Regions from separate parts of the Homo sapiens genome. Here region 1 is linked to region 2. Evidence: promoter capture Hi-C in human tissues and cell types (Jung and others, 2019). All regions are on one chromosome and are shown on one strand. The core of a region is centred on a gene start or on the middle of the fragment in contact, and the rest is flanking DNA. Distances in the headings are between cores, read along the strand shown.

Region 1 (2,908 bases), core at 67-2,566, 400 kb after region 2:
AGGCAGGCGGATCACCTGAGGTCAGGAGTTCAAGACCAGCATGGCTAACATGATGAAACCCCATCTCTACTAAAAATACAAAAATTAGCCGGGTGTGGTGGCACATGCCTGTAATCCCAGCTACTCATGAGGCTGAGGCAGGAAAATCACTTGAACCTGGGAGGTGGAGATTGCAGTGAGCCGACATCACGCCACTGCACTCCAACCTAGGCAACAAAGCTAGACTCCATCTCAAATAAATAAATAAATAAATAATACAAATCAAAAAGTAAAAGTAAAAGATAAATAAATAAACCTTTCTAGAGGGCTCACTGTGAGAAGCCTTAGGGAGGTTAAGGAGCTGACTCTGCCCCTCCTCAGTGCAACTCTTCCTTCCAGTCCTTGGTTTCCTTTGACTGCAGCTCCCTGACAGTAGATGTGATTCTGCGACACTCAGAATACCTCCTGGAGTACAGAGGTACGAGAGTGAACCAGTAGGCTCGACGCCCTAACGTACGGTGCCTGGATGTCCTTTTTGAATCTGTTGATGGTTTCTGTTTAGGTTCTGTTAACATTGGATGAGCACCCAATGTGCCAGGTCCTGGGGACACAAGGATGAGGAAGTCCCTGCCCTCAAAGAGCTCAGGATCTGGAGAGAAAGGACCCCTCAATTAGAGTCCAGTGTGTTAAATGCCCCCCAGGGAGACTCGGGAGGATGAGGGAGGCTGGGAAGATTCTACAGGCCCAGGGAGAGAGGCCAGTGGAGAATGAGGGGTGAGGGGAACTCCCAGTGGCTCAGGACCCACTAGGCCTCAATGTGCGATGGGCATCAAGAGGCTGAACTTGCTGGCATCAGGGGTCCTGCCAACACTCCTCAGAATCTCTGATTTACAGTATCGGGGTAGTCACATGAGAACGAAGCTCAGCTACAAGTGCACACTACAGCATTGTTTAAAACAGTGACAAAATGGAAAGCAAGCTACGTTTCCAAAGATGGAAGATTAACCCAAAGAATGATAGAGGGGCCAAATGAGGGGACTCTGGTAGAACCTGGAAGTGATGCTGGGGAAGACTGTTTCATGATTCTCAAGGCCCATGGATGAGCTGGGATTTGACCCTCTGTGAAAGCCCCCAGGTGAGCCTGCTGCAGTGCCATGGTTGCTGGCAGAAGACACGAGCCTCCTGGGTCAGAGACAAGTGACTTTATTACTCGCAGCACAGCAAGTAGCATGAGCTTTATGTTTGCATCGGTTTCCCTTGTCCCCAAGTCCCACAGGGGCCATGCAAAGGGGCCCGGAAGGGGTGGGTGTTGCGCACACAGCACATTTCTCACAGCTGAGGATCCCTGAGCTCAGGGAGCCCAAATTTCTTATAAGAAATCCTGATCCTTGCCCTGGGGGCAAACATCTATCTATATTGGACAGAAAACAAATTTGCCCTTTGATCTGAGGGGACACACTGTCTCTGTCTAACAAAGTTGTTTGCTATATAAACATCCTTGTAAAGATAGTTCTTCTACTTGCAAGACATGTAGAAACCTGAGAGACCCATGGAGAACTGTCTCCCAACAATGACACAGAAAGAAAATTTAGGCCGGGCATGGTGGCTCACGCCTGTAATCCTAGCACTTTGGCAGGCTGAGGCGGCTAGATAACCTGAGGTCAGGAGTTCGAGACTAGCTTGGCCAACAAGGCGAAACCCTGTCTCTACTAAAAATACAAAAATTAGCCAGGCATCATGGCATGCACCCAGCTACTTGGGAGGCTGAGGTGTAGTCCCAGCTACTTGGGAGGCTGAGGCAGGAGAATCACTTGAACCCAGGAGCCGGAGGTTGCAGTGAGCTGAAATTGCTCTACTGCACACCAGCCTGGGTGACACAGCAAGACTCCATCTCAAAAAAAAAGAAAAGAAAAGAAAAAATTTAGAGTCGCCAAGAAACAGATAACAAAACAGTATACATGTGTGAATCTGCACATTTGGTGTCTGCATGTGCATATTACGTAGGCACTAATACAAGCCCAGCAGAATATTCCCACAAATGTTCACAGGGGTTCTTGCTGGGCTTTCGTTCTATGATGAACAAAATAGTGACCATTGTACCTAGTAATCAATAGCCAACCCTTGCTATATGTTTGTAACATTCCAACCCCTGTTCTGAGCACATTACAGGTATCACCTCATTTAATCCTCATGACAAGCTGTGAGTCAGGAGCTGTTTATCATCTCCATTTTCAAGATGAAGCAAACCGAGGCCTGGAGTGGTCACTCAGTGGGGATTGAGTAGAGTTAGGATTCTGAATCCAAGTAGTGTGGCTGCAGGCTCCATCCTTTTTTTTTTTTTTTAGACAGGGTCTCATCGTTGCCGAGGCTGGAGTGCAGTGGTGTGATCTCAGCTCGCTGCAACCTCCGCCTCCTGGGCTCAAGCGATTCTCCCACCTCAGCCTCCTGAGTAGCTGGGACCACAGGCGCACACCACCACACCTGGCTAATTTTTGTAATTTTTGTAAGATGGGCTTTTGCCATGTTGGCCAGGCTGATCTTGAACTCCTGACCTCAAGTGATCTGCCTGCCTCGGCCTCCCAAAGTGCTGGGATTACAGGCATGAGCCACTGTGTCCAGCTTCATCCTCTTAAAACCACATTCCTTATGCCTTGAATAAAGCCTTATTATTATAGCAGAAAACGCCCTCTTTCCAGCAGCCTTTTATTTATAGATTTAATAAGTCTAAAATAGAAAGACAGGAATTGTTTTCTCTACTCAGAAAATTAAGTGAATCGAAAACCGACCGTAGTGGAATATGACGACTGTGTAATAACAGGCAAATGCAAAAATGATCACATCAAATGGCAGTTTATATAATTTATATGAAGCAATATTGCAAATTTATTTTAAAATACATATGCACAGGAAAAAAGCACTAGAACAAGAT
Region 2 (2,729 bases), core at 154-2,653:
ATCACTTGAGGCCAGGAGTTCAAGGCTACCCTGACCAACACAGCGAAACCCCGTCTCTACTAAAAAAAAAAAAAAAAAAATTAGCTGGGTGTGGTAGAACGTGCCTGTAATCCCAGCTACTCGGAAGGCTGAGGCAGGAGAATCACTTGGGCCCGGGGTGCGGGATGGCGGGCAGAGGTAGCAGGAGCTGAGATCGCAGGCACCATTGCACTACAGCCCGGGCGACAGAGCGAGATTGTCTGAATCAATCAATCAATCAACACCCTCCCCCTCCCCCTCCCTCTCCCTCTCCCTCCCTCCCTCTCTCTCTCTCTCTCTCTCCTGTGGCGGTCAGAGTAAAATTGAGAGCTCACTTTATGCAAAAGACTCTGCTAAGTGCTTTATTCCTATTGTCTCACTTTATTCTCTCATTAATCTTATAAAGCGCAGTCAGACTCTCCCGTTTATAGATGGGGAAATTGAGTCTTATAGATGTAAAGTCGCACACCCAAGACCCCACAACTCAGAAAGGGGCTACCTGCAATTCAGATGGAGGTATAGCAAGGCGCAGAGTCCTGTCCAGGGAGCCCACTGTGAGACCCCCCGACTGCCTCGCAGTCACCTGTACACATCATGTTGGGATCGCCGAGGGGCGCTGCAGCGATCCGGTTTCTGGGGCTGCGTCTGGGTGGCACGTTCAGAACGGGGACCTGCCTGGTTCTTCTTCCCAGCCCTTCCCCTCCAGCACCCGGCAAGGCCCAGTCAACACGAGCAAACTCGGAAATCCTGGCTGAACCCACGACCGCTGCATATTTCCATTTTAGAAAAACACGGCAACAACAACTCAAACCAAATCGTTCAGAAATGAGAATAAAGAAGCACCGACAAAGGAGGCGATTGCTGGGGCCGCTCGGGGGAGGAGCCGGGTGAGAGGCTGCAGGGAGGGCAGGGCATGCGCCGGCGACAACGGGGTTCGCGGTTTGGGGGGCAAGGCCCGGGGGAAGAGAGAGAACAGGGGTGCAGCGCCGCGGCGGGGGGCGTGAGGATGGAGCCGGGGGAAGGGGGGCTCTGAGATGTGAAGGGGCGGGGCTGGGGCTTTTTGGTCTGAAGGAAGGAGTCTCACGGGACGGAGGGACGAAGATTTCCTGGGGTCAGGGGCGCCAAGGGGCTTCGGGGCCGGATGCAGCGGAGGGGGCCCGGGGCCTGGGGGGCGTGGTGAGAGCTCAGAGGGGTCTCGCCAAGCAGCCGGCTGGCGCTGAGGGGACCGAGGAGGGGTCTGGGGCGAAAGGACCGCGAGAGGGCGCCCAGGGCGCGGGGGGCGCGGTACCTGCAGGCCGGCAAAGTCTTCCAAACCGGTCCCGCCAGACCCGCGCGGCCGCCGCCCCCGTCTCGGCCGCCGGAGCTGCTGCCGCGCCGCGCCCTCACGTGACCCGCGTACGCGCCGGGGGCGGAGCCGTCTCAGACCCGCCCCCACCCCCCGGCGTCCCCAGCGCGCCGGTCCGTCCCGAGTGCGCGTGCGCAGCGGTTGCCTGGGCGACCGGGGAAGCGTTGGGCTGTAAAGACTAGGGCGCCAGCGGCTGGCGAAGAAGGAAAGAGGGTACTCTCTGGCTGGGCTGGGGCCGTAGCGACGTCCGCCGCGAACCTGGGCCCCCCAAAGCTGCGGGGCGTTCGGTGTCGCCGAAGTAAACATGCACCCTGAGCCCTCGGAGCCTGCGACAGGTGGTGCAGCAGAGCTGGATTGCGCGCAGGAGCCCGGCGTGGAGGAGTCTGCGGGTGACCACGGGAGCGCAGGCCGAGGGGGCTGCAAGGAAGGTGCCGACTGCCCCCCAGGGAGGGCGGTGGGCGAGGGGCAGACACGGCTAGGCGCTCCAGCCCCCTTCCCACACCACATACCCGATCTTCACAGCCAAATAATAACAATAATAATAATGGTAGCAAGCAACGCTCTGCAGTAGGGGCTTCTCTCGCCATTTCGTACTGAGGAGGAAACATACTTAAGAGGTTACAAAACTTGCACCAAACAGATAACCCTCGGCTAGTCAGTGACAGAAGAGACTTGGCCGGGTGCGGTGGCTCAACGCCTGTAATTCCAGCACTTTGGGAGGCCGAGGCGGGCGGATCATCAGGTCAGTCAGGAGTTCGAGACCAGCCTGGCCAACATAGTGAAACCCTGTCTCTACTAAAAATACAAAAAATGAGCTGGGCGTGGTGGCGGGCGCCTGTAGTCTCAGCTACTTGGGAGGCTGAGGCAGGAGAATCGCTTGAACCCGGGAGGCGGAGGTTGCAGTGAGCCAAGATCTCGCCATTGCATTCCAGCCCGGACGACAGTGGGAGACTCCGTCTCAAACAAACAAACAAACAAACAAGCAAACAAAACCCACCAGACTCAGGCCCAGACAGTCTGGGTCTCCAGAGCCCCAGCCCTAACCCACCACGCTATTCTCCCTGGTCCCAACTTTGATGCTTTAAATGTGTCCCTTTATTGCTATCACTATGTAAGATCAAAGGCTTTCTCTCCCTCCAGACTGCATGTTGTGTCAGGGCAAGACATCTTGATTGAATTTGGAGTCTAGTCCAGTGCCTGACCTAGGGTAGAGAGTCCGAATGAAGACTTGGTTCTGGGGTCAGTGTGTGATCCCCTCACCAAAGTTTGCCAGAATGGACTTGAAAGATAACCTTCATGGCCAGGCACGGTGGCTCACGCCTGTAATCCCAGCAATTTGGGAGGCAGAGGCAGGTGGGTCACCTGA

Evidence for each region. Contacts are between HindIII fragments. The study calls those that stand out against the background at their distance.
Region 1: a fragment that was not itself captured here is called in contact with the fragment with the promoter of HSDL1 in region 2 in 1 of the 25 tissues and cell types used here (IMR-90 fibroblasts).

The regions. Positions count from the first base shown.
Region 1 is chr16:84,539,026-84,541,933 of GRCh38, forward strand. No RefSeq gene overlaps it. Among named protein-coding and RNA genes, the nearest start is that of MEAK7, 36 kb to the left of the region's middle. RefSeq lists a silencer at 2,038-2,332. The HindIII fragment of the contact is 4,984 bases long and covers 1-2,908 here.
Region 2 is chr16:84,143,774-84,146,502 of GRCh38, forward strand. It overlaps HSDL1 (hydroxysteroid dehydrogenase like 1), which reads right to left and starts at 1,404. Exons shown (of 6, transcript NM_031463.5): 1 at 1,307-1,404. DNAAF1 (dynein axonemal assembly factor 1) reads left to right here and starts at 1,535. Exons shown (of 12, transcript NM_178452.6): 1 at 1,535-1,791. The coding sequence starts at 1,668. RefSeq lists silencers at 829-878, 929-978, 1,139-1,588. The HindIII fragment of the contact is 9,646 bases long and covers 1-2,729 here.